Linked DNA regions of Homo sapiens: all the other regions are linked to region 1. The links are contacts of gene promoters, found by promoter capture Hi-C in blood cells and fetal thymus (Javierre and others, 2016). All regions are on one chromosome and are shown on one strand. Each heading gives the region's core, a stretch centred on a gene start or on the middle of the fragment in contact. The rest is flanking DNA. Distances are from core to core; before and after follow the strand shown.

The links. The method cuts DNA at HindIII sites, captures the fragments that hold promoters and counts their contacts. A CHiCAGO score of 5 or more calls a contact.
Region 2: a fragment that was not itself captured here is called in contact with the fragment with the promoter of SOD3 in region 1 in 1 of 17 cell types (M1 macrophages); the score reaches 5.4 in M1 macrophages.
Region 3: a fragment that was not itself captured here is called in contact with the fragment with the promoter of SOD3 in region 1 in 1 of 17 cell types (M2 macrophages); the score reaches 5.2 in M2 macrophages.
Region 4: a fragment that was not itself captured here is called in contact with the fragment with the promoter of SOD3 in region 1 in 2 of 17 cell types (M2 macrophages and M1 macrophages); the score reaches 6.1 in M2 macrophages.

Annotation. Positions count from the first base shown.
Region 1 is chr4:24,794,165-24,797,471 of GRCh38, forward strand. It overlaps SOD3 (superoxide dismutase 3), which reads left to right and starts at 1,409. Exons shown (of 2, transcript NM_003102.4): 1 at 1,409-1,487. The HindIII fragment of the contact is 8,707 bases long and covers 295-3,307 here.
Region 2 is chr4:24,600,299-24,603,814 of GRCh38, forward strand. No RefSeq gene overlaps it. Among named protein-coding and RNA genes, the nearest start is that of DHX15, 18 kb to the left of the region's middle. The HindIII fragment of the contact is 1,146 bases long and covers 723-1,868 here.
Region 3 is chr4:24,550,096-24,553,469 of GRCh38, forward strand. All of the region lies in intron 5 of DHX15 (DEAH-box helicase 15), which reads right to left. Among named protein-coding and RNA genes, the nearest start is that of MIR573, 31 kb to the left of the region's middle. RefSeq lists an enhancer at 3,095-3,374. The HindIII fragment of the contact is 3,436 bases long and covers 386-3,374 here.
Region 4 is chr4:24,568,620-24,571,797 of GRCh38, forward strand. It overlaps DHX15 (DEAH-box helicase 15), which reads right to left. Exons shown (of 14, transcript NM_001358.3): 3 at 2,035-2,228. Among named protein-coding and RNA genes, the nearest start is that of DHX15, 14 kb to the right of the region's middle. The HindIII fragment of the contact is 2,716 bases long and covers 342-3,057 here.

The DNA.
Region 1 (3,307 bases), core at 159-2,658:
GTGGCATGGGGAACTCTGAAAACTCATTAGTTGAGGATAACTACGCCTACCAACAGAATGCAGAGGTGCAAGACTGAGCTACTGGTGCCTGAGTTCTCAGCGGGCCAGAAGGAAGGACGGTAGGGTGGAAGGGCTGGAGTCTCAGTTCTGGGAAGTCTCCCTCTTATCTCGCAGAATGCCTGTCCCTGGATAAAGATCATTAGTTTGAGTTTTTCCAAGATGATTCTAGGAAGCTCCTGCTGGTAACTAAGTCACCCATCCTGGGGTGGGATCCAGAGATTTAGATTTTTTATAAGCTTTCCTGCCACCGAAACGGGTGTTTGGGACCTCACGAGGCCCTGTTCATTCTTCGTCGCTGCGCTCCCCACTCTGTACTGGATGCATTTACTGACGTTGTTGTCTCCGTCCCCAGAGTATGAACCCCCAAGGTGACTCATGCAGCTGTGGGTGCCCGGCATACAGCATGGTGACTGGAATGGATGAGCACCCAATAAACATTTGTTGCAGGAATGCAGGAGGACGGGCAGGCCAGCAAGCAGGCTGCCTGGTTTTTCCCACATGGGCTTTTCTGGGAAAGAAGAGCTTCTATTTTTGGAAAGGGCTGCTATGATTGAGAAAAGTTCATGGCAGCAAAAAAAGGACAGACGTCGGGAGGGAAACACTCCTAGTTCTCCCAGACAACACATTTTTTAAAAAGACTCCTTCATCTCTTTAATAATAACGGTAACGACAATGACAATGATGATTACTTATGAGTGCGGCTAGTGCCAGCCACTGTGTTGTCACTGGGCGAGTAATGATCTCATTGGATCTTCACGGTGGGCGTGCGGGGTGGACAGCCTCACACCCCCATTTTACAGATGATGAAAAGGAGGTGCAGGGAGTGGTGCAGCTGCTTCAGGCGTACACAGATAGGAAGTGACAAGGCTGGGACTCTGCAGCCTGAGTGTGTCATCACGACCCACCCGCTGCTCTGCTCTCATAGGTATGACAGCACAGCTCTGGAGCAAATGCCACGCACATTTGCAAGGTGCCCATTTCCATGCAGCAAAAATAAGTCAATAAGTTATTGACTTACAGAAAAGCAAAGGGCCTCTCAATAAAGAGGTCATTGTACACCTCTCCAAACAGGCGATTTTCTTTCTCATTTTTATTCCCCTGCTGTGTGCTGAAGGTCACTGGCTACAAGCCGGTGAAGTCGCGGAATGGAATCCTTGGCCCGAAAACCCAAAAATGGGAGGGGCAGAGGAGGTGGGGACAGAGCGGGAGGAGGTGGAGGCGAAGCAATTCTACAACCCGGGGAGGTCTGGCCTGCTTTTCCTCCCTGAACTGGCCCAATGACTGGCTCCCTCACGCTGACCACTCCTCTGGGCTGGCCTCCTGCACTCGCGCTAACAGCCCAGGCTCCAGGGACAGCCTGCGTTCCTGGGCTGGCTGGGTGCAGCTCTCTTTTCAGGAGAGAAAGCTCTCTTGGAGGAGCTGGAAAGGTGGGTGCTAAGTTGAGGTTCATTTTGTTCTTCTCGGAGTGTGCTTATTGAGTCTGAAGCTGGGTTGGGGCAACGGGCCTCTTCTTGGGAACAAATTGGATCATCTTCTTGGGAAGGAAATGTACTTTCCCTGGCTGCTCTGAGGGGTTAGTGGGGAGGTGGAGTGAGCGGGGAGGAAGGCAAGGAGGGGAGGAAGAAACCGTTCCTCCTGTGGATCTGCAAAGACCAGTCCAAGAGGATTTTAGTGTTAGGAAAAGGAATCTGGAGTGACGAGAAAGGGGGCCTTTCTAGATGTTGCATGGCTTTGGTGTCGGGAGCCACTTATGGGACAGCAGGTACTCTAAAAAGCCACCTCCTTAGGAAAGCAGAGAGGCCCTGGCCAGCTCAGGCTCCCAGCAAGAGCTCCTTCTAGGAGACAGCTGAGGGATGAAACACACCCAAGGCTCAAGAGGGGCAGGTTCTTCCCAGATACAGACCCAGGAAGGAGATAAAGGCTTGGTGCCTCTATTTGGTTCAGGATAAGGGCCCCTGTCCTCTTTCTCTGATAACACTGTCCTCTTTCTCTGATAACACCGTCCTCCCTTCCAGATCCACGTACAAAGGAGGCCCTTAAAAAGGCACTTGGTCATTCACAGCTCAAACTGAGCAAGAGGCTGTGGGAGAAGAATCAAGTTGGTCCCGAGGGGAAGAGGTGTCAAAGGCTTAAGAAACAAGAAGTCAGAGTTTACCTGGGTTTGAGGGAGAATTTTCTTTCCCCCTTTTCCTCCTCCTCCTCCTTCTTCTCTTTTTTTTTTTTTTTTTTTTTTTTTTGAGACATGGTCTCATTCTGTCACCCAGCACCCAGGCTGGAATGTAGTGGCACGATCACTATCACGGCTCACTACAGCCTCTACCTCCCGGGCTCAAGCGATCCTCCTACCTCAACCTCCTGAGTAACTGGGACTACAGGCACATGCCACCACACCCAGCTATTTTTTTTTTTTTTTTTTGCTAGAGATGGGGGTCTCTACCAGGTTGGTCTCATACTCTTGTACTCAAATGATTCTCCTGTCTCATCCTCCCAAAGGGGTGGGATTACAGGCATAAGCCACCATGCCTGGCTCTTCTTTTGGTTTCAGAGAAAAACATCTCCTTAAAATGTTTATTTCCCAAGGATTCTTGAAAAAGAAAGCTCACTGACACACCCAAAACAATCTGGTTTTGCTCTGTGCTTTTAGGGAGAACTTTCTAAGCAGCAGAGCCCTTCTGAGTGGCAGGGCTGTCTTAGGAGGAAGGTGTCTTTGATGATGGGGAACTTCATGTCCAGGTCTGGCAGGAGAGTTACCCCACTTTCCTGCCTACTCCCTGGGGCTTTGGGGTAGTAGTACCACATTGGGCCATGTCATTTAGGTGAGTCCTTCAACATCACTTTCTCTGCTTCTCCCTCTTTCTGGATCCTCCTTCTTGGAGCCTTTCAAGGGGACCTCCTCTCACAGTGTCCATAGCATCTCTTAGCTAATGGTCCTTAAAATCTCTACCAGCAGCTCTCTCTGATAGCTAAGAGCTGCCATTTACTGGGAACTTTCTATGTACTGGGCTCTGTGCTAAGTGCCCTAGATGAGAGATGTGCAGTGTGGTGCCTAAACCTTGGGCTTGGAGCAGACACACACTTTCAAATCCTGCCTTCAGCTCCTTAGTGAACATGTCACCTTGGGCGGGACACACGCCTCTCTGTGCCTCAGTTTCCTACACTTTAGAATGGGGATAACACTGAATAATGTTCTTGTGAGGATGCAGGGAATTAACCCACGCACAGTACTTATAATAGTGTCTGGCGCCTG
Region 2 (3,516 bases), core at 46-2,545, 190 kb before region 1:
ACTGGGGAACAACAGAGGCTGGGAATGGAGCTGCTCAAAGGGTTAAGTAAAACCTGATGGAAAGCTGGGGGTCTATTGTTTTCTCTATTAGAGCTCATGTAGCCATTTTTTTCAGTACTGTTGAGGAAACAATAGGACTCCTTTGTATACCCGGTCACGGTTAATACTGAGTATCAACTTGATTGGATTGAACGATACAAAGTATTGATTCTGTGTGTGTCTATGAGGATGTTGCCAAAGGAGATTAGCATTTGAGTCAGTGGGCTGGGAAAGGCAGACCCACCCTTAATCTGGGTGGGCACAATCTAAACAGCTGCCAGCGTGGCTAGAATACAAGCAGGCAGAAAAAAGTGAAAAGAGAAACTGGCCTAGCCTCCCAGCCTACATCTTTGTCCTGTGCTGGATCCTTCCTGCCCTTGAACATTGGACTTTAAGTTCTTCAGTTTTGGAACTCGGACTGGCTCTCCTTGCTCCTCAGCCTGCAGACGGCCTATTGTGGGATCTTGTGATCGTGTGAGTTAATACTTAATAAACTCCCGTTTATATATTCCATGAGTTCTGTCCCTCTAGAGAACCCTGATTAATACACCCACTTTACAAAGTTAGAGGACCTATTTGCATTTGTTTGTGAAAATTCATTTGTTCTGTTGGTCTGATATTAAGTTTAGAGTAGTCAGTATGGGCAACAGGGCATCTATCCCTACAAATAGTCCTCTGGGAAAAGCTTTGTCAGATTGGAAGCACGTTGGTTATCTGCTAATGACAAGAAGAGTTAATCTTCTGTTGTAACACATCTTGGCCAATGTATGTTTTGGGGTCTGAGAAATGGTAGCCAGTTTTTGGATCTTTAAATTTTCATACCATTTATCAATTAGAATTGTTCTACCAGAGGTCAGGTAAATGAGGTGAAATACCTTACATCTGGGCATTAATGTTGCTAAGGAAAAAGGAAATAAGCTAACTTGGCAATGCACTGCCAAGTCTGTCCTGACTCACAAGGGGAGGAAGAGAAAGCCTTTGAAACCCAATTTAATGAATAGTTAATGAATACCCTAAACCCCATAGTGGCTACTGCCGCAGCTCAGGAAAGAGAGGGAATGCTACCCATAGAGTACAGGAAGGCAGCAGGGCTACTGTCTCCCTCTAGGACTAGGCAAGGTACTAATTTTGGCCAGGGAGTCACTGAGTCTGGAGCAGGGAAGTTCCCACTGTAACAATATTCAGTAGGAGTCAATTAGCAAGGAGCTCCAGCCAACATTATTGGGCCTATAATACCACTGTATTTGCTACACAGTGCCCACCTGGGCAGATGTGCAGGCTCTCCTAAGCATTATGCTCACTGCAGATGAGCGGCAGCTGGTTTTCAATAAAGTGAAGGAAGAGGCGCAATGACTTCATCATGAAAATTCAGACAACACAGATCCGGGGGCGGCAATTCCCCACAGGGACCCTAATTGGGATATTGTAGAGGACATACATCCCACTGTAGCTAACCCATATACTAAGTTCATTTCTCTTCCTGGAGATTATAAATGGCTGACAGTATTGGATTTAAAAGATGCTTTCTTTTGCATACCCATAGACACAGAAAGTCAACTGTTGTTTGCCTTTGAATGGATAGATCTTGAAGCCGCAACGTGGTTTCAGTATCATTGGACTGCACTCCCACTAGGATTTAAAAACTCTCCACATATATTTGGGGAAGCCTTGGCTTGAAATTTAAAGAGTTTAAAATTGGAAAATGGGGTATTGTTACAATATGTGGGTGATTTACTAATACCTAGCCTCTCTGAATGGGAATGTCAGAATAACACCATTAAAACTCTTAACCACCTAGCCACCCGTGGGTATAAGGTTTCAAGTAAAAAAGCTTAGATATGCCAACAAACTGTGGCATACTTAGATTTTCTCTTGCAGGAGGGAGCTAGAGCTCTAATAGTGGAAAGACAAAATGCAATCGCTTCCATTGCAGCACCCACTACCAGAAGGTAGTTGAGAGGATTTCTAGGCAAGGCAGGGTTTTGTTAGATCTGGATTCCTAACTATGAACTACCAATGAAGCCGCTATACAGTCTGTTAAGGGACCTAACAATGATGCCTTCGATTGGGAGCAAAACACCAGCACTCATTTGGACAACTGAAATGTAAGTTAACCTCCACCCTATTCCTGGGGCTCCCAAATCCTCATAAGCCTTTTCAATTGTACATGCATGAGAGACTGGGTCTAGCACTGGGGATCCTTAACACAGAAATTAGGAGAAATCTTGCAGCCACTAGGCTTACTTTCCTAAACAACTGGATAATGTGGCCAAAGGCTGTCTCCTGTTCAAGGGCGGTCACTGCCACCTGCCTACTATTAAAGGAGGCTGAAAAGTTGACTTTGGGACAGCCTGTTACTGTCTACGTGCCTCACCAAGTACTAGTGTTACTAGAACAAAAGGGAGGCTACTGGCTGACAGTGGGCAGATTGAGCAAATACCAGGCCACACTCCTAGATGAACCCACAGTAAAAGTGCAGGTTACCAGAGCCTTGAACCCAGCTACTTTACTTCCCTCTACCGAAGAGCCAAAAGAACTTATGCATAATGTTTACCAATTATTGACTAAGGTGTTTTCCAGTCACCCTAATTTAAAGGACACAGCCCTGCCATATGCATACTGGACATTGTTCATGGATGGGAGCAGCCTGGTAACCGACAGAAAAAGAAATGCTATATATGTAATGGTAACGTTTTCAGAGGTCACAGAAGCCAGGACTTTACCACTAGGAACCTCTGCACAGAAGGCAGAACTGATTGCCCTTACAAGAGCCTGCAGTTGTTCCAGGTAAACAAGGCACTTGGAATAAATTGCAGACTATACTCAGCATGGAGACCACAGTCTTCTGGACAGACTGAAAGGAAAATCCAGCACTAAAAACAGTTATTGCCAAACTGTGCCAGGAAACTCAACCAAAATGAATTCAGGTACTTGGCATTGCATTGCTCTGGGTAAGAATGACCTCCCCAGATGTGGGATTAGGTTAAGTCCTGTGAAATGATACATGAGAGACCCTTTTGGGTTACTAGGGTGCCCCTTAATAAGAAGTCAACTATTAAACATTGTGTTACTCACTTGGGACAAATTCGTAACGTTTTGCATAAGCTTGCTTTCAACAACAGCATTGTGAACTCAGCAGAGCCACGCCACTCTTTCCAGTCCCGTGATCAAGTACTGCTAAAGAGTAGATGGGAACGGGCCCAACTCAGCAGCTACAGGAGAAATGGAAAGGGCCCTACTGGTGCTGCTAACTGCCAATTTCAGCACTGAAACTGGCGGGCATCAAGCCATGGATCCACTACACATTGTAAAAAAGTTCCTGCCAAAATAAATGTTCATAACAGAGGTCCCCAAGATAGCCAAATAGGAGGCAGAACCCCTCAAAGTCCTAAGATTTCTGTACAAAAAAGATAGGATTTTTTAAATAATATTTTTTCTTACTACATCTTTTGTTGTTTCTTTCTATACTCCTAACCT
Region 3 (3,374 bases), core at 854-3,353, 240 kb before region 1:
AAAAAAAAAAAAAAAAAAAAAAAAAAAACGGTAAAAATCAGTACACTCATATAGGGCATCTGCCATGAAAGAAGTCTGCAGGACTGAAAGTTGCTGTGAGTGAGTGAGTACTTAGTGAATGTGATGGCCTAGGACATTCTGTACAGAACTGTAGACTTCATAAACACTGTACATTTTGGCGATACAAAATTTATAAAAAAATGTATTTTCTTTTTTTTGATATATTTTTCTTTCTTCATTAAATTAACCTTAGCTTACTACAACTTTTTAACTTTATAAACTTCTAAATTTTAACTCTGACTCTTGTGTAGTAACACTTAGCTTAAAACACAAACACACCGTATGGCTGTGCAAAAGTATTTTCTCTTTATATCCTTATTCTATAAGCTTCATTCCAATTTAAAATTTTTTACTTTTTCAACTTATTAAACTTTTTGGTTAAAAGACACAAACACACACTTAACCTAGGCCCCCACAGGGTCAGGATCATCAATATCACTATCTTCCACCTTAACGTATTAACCCACTGGAAGGTCTCCAAAGGCCAGTAACACACATGGAGCTGTCATCTCCTGTGATAACAATGCCTTCTCCTAGAACACCTCCTGAAGGACCTGCCTAAGCCTGTTTTACAGTTAACATTTTTAAGTCGAAGGAGAACACTCTAAAATAATGATAAAACATGTAGTATAGTAAATACAAAAACCACTAACAATGTCCTATTATCATTATTATTATGTACTGGACATAATTGTACATACTATATAGTACTTTTAAAACAACTGGCAGCAAAGTAGGTTTGTTTGAACTAGCATCATCACAAAGCAGTGAGTAATGTGTTGTGCTGTGATGCTGCAAGGTTACGTTCAGCTCCACTATAATCTTACGGGAGCAGCACCACAGCTATCTGAGAAGTTTGTCTTGACCAAAACGTTGTTATGTGGCACATGACTATATTCTAACACATGTGCATTCAAGAGGAGACATAATGAATATCAAGACGGAAAAAAAGAGAGAGACAGATTATGTATGATAGCTCTGGGAGAGGCAAAGGAACTTAAAAATGGAAGGCAGCACTGCGGACAAATGTATTCTAAATTTTATTGAAGTATTAATTCAATTAAACCCAGAAGTATGTAAAACGCTTATTATACACTAGGCAGCCTGTCCAATAAATGACCCAATCAGAAGCTACCCTTGTCAACAAAGTGCGTGTTTTTTTCAAAGGACAATGATACTAAACGGTGAGGAAGAATTTTAGGACATTTACTTTATATTTTTTTAATGTCCAACTGTGTCTCTATATCAAAAAACACAACGTTCTTAAACACAGTAAGAACAAATAAATTACTTTTCACTTATTTCAAACACATCAGTTTTTTTTAAAGGTTATCTGTCTCAAAAATTGTGACACAGAAAACTATTAAAGATTCAATGTTACTAGATCCTCCTTTGAAATCTCAAGTTTCTAAAAGAAAATGAAAGTAGATGCTATTCATCTAAATAAAAAATATAACAAAGCGAACAAATATTTTTTGAAAATACTGCTTTCAAATGTTGTATCTAGATTAGAATGCCCCCTGCTGGCATGCAAATAAAAAATTAAGAGCTCTCCAACTTAAAAAACATTTGAACATAATATAAAACTAGGATTCCAACATTTAAGAGTATCTGCAATTTTGTTAATTTTACTGTACATAAATGAAAAATAAATGCTCAGAAATCACAAAATATCCAGATTTCACACATTAAAAATTAAGTGCTTAAATTAGACATTTGCTTTGTGATTCCAGTATTTTAAAATGACAATTCCAACTTTACTGGAGATTAGACTACCCAATCTGCTAAGTATGCAAGGAGCTAAAACAAAATGATGACTATGTAGGATATAAAGGCATCTCTAAAATGTGGAAGAAATCCCGTAACACTTAAGTTTTTAGATAAAGTCCTAAACAGCTTTAAAACTTGCAATAAAAATTTTCCCTGAGGTTTGCCAAACTTCCAAGAAGTCAACACTATCAGCTGAGAATGCCACAAAACTTATCTGCATTCATCAGAATATAAACAGAAACAGGTAGTGGAGGAAAAGAAGTTTCAACAGCAGCCATCTGCTTAGTCATTAGCAATACTGAGAATAAAGACAGACAGTTCAGGAGTTTTTGATTTGAGAAAAGATTTTTAACTCCAAAAGCAGCAATATGTTAGTAAATTAATCTGGACCTTACCAATTAACTCACTGCATGTTGAAAAAAAAATTTACTAAGCAAAATTAAAAATAAAATTATTTAATTACAATCACTCTTATCTAATTACTATCTAGGCAACACTTTAAACTGTTCTCTCTCCCTCCCAAATTAACTCATGTGACTACAGAAGCACTTTTATTTAGTGGTCAGAATATGTTCTTAAAAACCAGTTTTAAATTTTTATGAGATTACTCAATTTCATGGAGGCTATTCAAATTTATGAAGAAAGGAGTACTGATTTCGCAGTTGCATTTAACTTACCAAGTAAAAATAATGAAGGTTCACAAAAATGAGAAGGTAATATTTACTTTAGACCAGCTCTACTACTAAATACAACAAATGAAATGTAAACAAAACGTTAGGTTTTCTGCTACCTTCTCCCCAAAACTCTTCAAATTCAAGACTGGGAATCTAAAGATAACTTAAAGAAGCAATGGTATGCAAAAAAACAGCTGACAACTAGAGCAGCATTTTATTTCATGAAAGACACTCTAGCATACATCTGAAAACCCTTCGGCTTACTCCCTTCCTTTCCCCAGCTGTGGGATTCACAGAAAATACCGCACAAAGTTGTCTCAGAGAAAAACCTTTCGGGTCCTTAACCATGAGGCCATTTGATATTTCTGATAGAATCTCAATACGCTTATGTTATCTGAGAATGATGACAATTTTAAATAGTGATTTAAAAAATAAAAATATGGCCAGGTGCAGTGGCTCACGCCTGTAATCCCAGCACTTTGGGAGGCCGAGGCGGGTGGATCACCTGAAGTTGGGAGTTCAAGACCAGCCTGACCAACACGGAGAAACCCCATCTCTACCAAAAATACCAATTAGTTGGGCATGGTGGCGCATGCCTGTAATCCCAGCTACTCGGAAGGCTGAGGCAGGAGAATCACCTGAACCTGGGAGGCAGAGGTTGCGGTGAGCCGAGATCGCGCCACTGCACTCCAGCCTGGGCAACAAGAGCAAAACTCCATCTCAAATAAATAAATAATAAAACAAAATAAATAAAAATAAAAATATACTATGCACTTTGGAGGAAATGAGAAACTAGAGACCAGACACAAGAGGACAAAACGATTATCCCAACAGCCTCAATACTACATTACAGCACAAATGCTGTTTATA
Region 4 (3,178 bases), core at 450-2,949, 230 kb before region 1:
CACACAGCACCAATATTGCATAACTTTCTTGTATCCCAATTTCCAAATTCTGTTCTCAACTGTGGCTTACCAAAAAAATTCAATGCAATGTGAATCAAGTCAGAATAATGATATTCCTCCTAAAGATGAGTAAAATCTCCCCCTTATTATCCTCAAGTCCTTGACATTACCTGCATTTTAAAGTAATACAACATAATGAGCTATGATTTTGCTTATGCAATTATTGTCAATTATACTGTAATTACCAGTGATCAATAACGTATCACTGAACAACTACAAGAATTTATTCAGTGAAGATTAAGGTTTAAGCCAAAAATATGTCCCATAAAGTCATAAGGATAAGCTTATTTAAATATTTTAAAGTTCAACTGCTATTAAATATCACGCTGAATAAAAAGTTCTAATAAAATGAGATAAATCAAAGAATTAGAAAAAACTGACACAAATGTTGAATGAAAACTGGATATTTTGATCCAATAAATTGTTTTAAGTTATGATAGCTCTATTTTAAGAAACTATCTCAGAGATACACACTGAAATATTTATATATATAATTATTTGGTATCTAAGACTGCTTCGAAATAACATGGGACAGGGAAATAAATTAAGATTGGATATGAAATAAATAAGACTGAAATAGTTAAAAGTCGATGATAAACACATGCAGTTCATTATTCTATTCAATTTCTGCGGCTGGGTGTAGTGGCTCACGCCTGTAATCCCAGCACTGTGGGAGGCTGAGGCGGGCGGATCATGAGGTCAGGAGTTAGAGACCAGCCTGGCCAACATAGTGAAACCACAACTCTACTAAAGATACAAAAAGTTAGCCAGGCATGGTGGCGCACACCTATAGTCCCAGCTACCTGAGAGGCTGAGGCAGGAGAATCGCTTGAACCCGGGAGGCGGAGGTTGCAGAGAGCCGAGATGGCGCCACTGCACTCCAGCCTGGGCAACAGAGTGAGACTCCATCTCAAAAAAAAAAAAAAAAAAAAAAAAGAGAGACTCTTGTTTCATTTATCCCATTAACACTATATATCTCTCTGACAACAAAGACTCTGACAACAAAGACTCATATCACTGCCTACACAACGCTCCAAAATGGTTTTTAAAAACCTCAGGGAGAAGATCACATAGATATGATTTTTCTTTTTTTTTAAAAGAAATGTGGTCTTGCTATGTTGCTCAGGTTCAAATGCAGTAGCTATCACAGGCATGATCAGAGCACACTGTAGCCTTGAACTCCTGGCCTCAAGCAATAATCCTGCTTCAGCCTACGAAGTGGCTGGGAATAAACAGGCATATGCCACTGAGCCCCACTCAAACAAGTCACATTTAAAAGGACTTAAATATCACATAAATACAGAATAAGCAGAAGCAACCAGAGGGAAGACTTGAGAAAGAATCATCATCAGGTAGCATACATCATAACTTATGCAGAATGCAAGTATAAGACAATAAAAAGTTGGTAGAGTTAAAACATTAGAAAGCTCAATACAGTAGTCAATTATCTGCACCATAGCTATAGAGGAACAAGGACCTAGAGGCAGCTCTAACAGTGTATTACAGAACAAAAGATTCCTCTTTTTAGCTTATAACAGATGCACGGTAATAGCTGCATAATTAACATTAAAAGTCCCCTCTCCCCTAAATAAATCACATCCCATCCTATACATTCTTCTTTCTAAAAGTAGTTATCTTTTACTAAGTAAGACATATCACTTTCCTTTTCTTTCACAATTAAGTCATACACCATTGTGTCTACTAAAACCACACATTTTACAGTATCAGTAACATTTCACCTAAAATGCAGAACCAAGTAACTAAAATCTGACCTTTGAACTTCAATTTCTACCAAGTAACTATAGATTACCAATAATATATAATTAAACTAAGGTCATGTGGTAAGTCTAAGAAGGCCTACTTTGGATAATTCTAAATTTGGATGACATAAGCCTGCACTAGCAAAGTCTTCTATCTAATAGCAGAAAATGGCAAGCAGAGGACTAAAAGCGTCATTAAAGATATAGTACTTACTTAAGAATGGTTTTTGCACTACTGCAGTCTTCAAATCGAATGGAGTAACCAACTTCCTGGCCCAACATCACATCCATCTCATCAGCAACTCTCTGAGCCACACTCATTGCAGCCACTCTCCTGGGTTGGGTACAGGCAACTCCTCTCTTGGGTCCTGGTAATGATCGCATGTACTCCACACACCACTGTGGAATCTATCAAATAATTTCACATTTAAATTAATTCTATTCTGCCTGCATATCAAGTATATGTAACATAAAGCACTTTATCTCATTCTAATGATTTAAAACCAAATCCAATTAGGCAAATGACTATAAGACTTGTGATTCAAAACTTGTAACAACACAAGCTCTCTAAACCAAGGAACAGTTATGTGTAATACTGATATGACACACACCCAAGTTGGGTAGACACAATCAGGAATACACTCGACAGTGTGACTATCCCATCATGAAGTATTTCTCTATGCAATTTTAAAAAATCCAACTTACAACAAATTCTACTTTATAACAAACGTTTCTAAGAAAGTGTAACTTTTAAATTCTTACATAATTTGAGTTGCAAAATCAAGTGGAAATCATACCCCCTTGTAACTCTGAAGCTGTACTTTTATTTAATTCAATTCAAATTTGGTTTATAAGCCAGCAGAACCTAACTCTTAGCACCCAACTCTTTTGTAATCCTATCCTTTCCCCCTCAGGAGCAGTATGCACAATGGTAGCACCTTAGGTACCATCTTAAAATCAATTTTAAGAACTGCCAGTCTCAAATTTAACAGGACCTAGAGCAGCACCACTTCGTTAAGGGCAGCCAAAGGGTTGGGGGACCCCCAAGCACAAGTTAAATTGGTTGCCATGACGGCAGTACATTTTCCCCCAGTTCCATTATCAATATAAGCTAATGGATTCCCCAATTTTACAGTTTTCCAGTCACTTAACTGGAAAAGAACCATGGGAAAAATGTAAGTGCTCACCATATTATATGGAAATCCACTGCTAGAAGAGCATAACTGGTTTACATCAAAGCTTCCAAACGCCTATCAAACTCTAATGCTACAGGAAACATGGAGTTTTCTGCACAGTATCAGTACAGTAAAACTGATAAGGAATATTGGTGGCTGCACTATTATTACATTTTAGTTAGG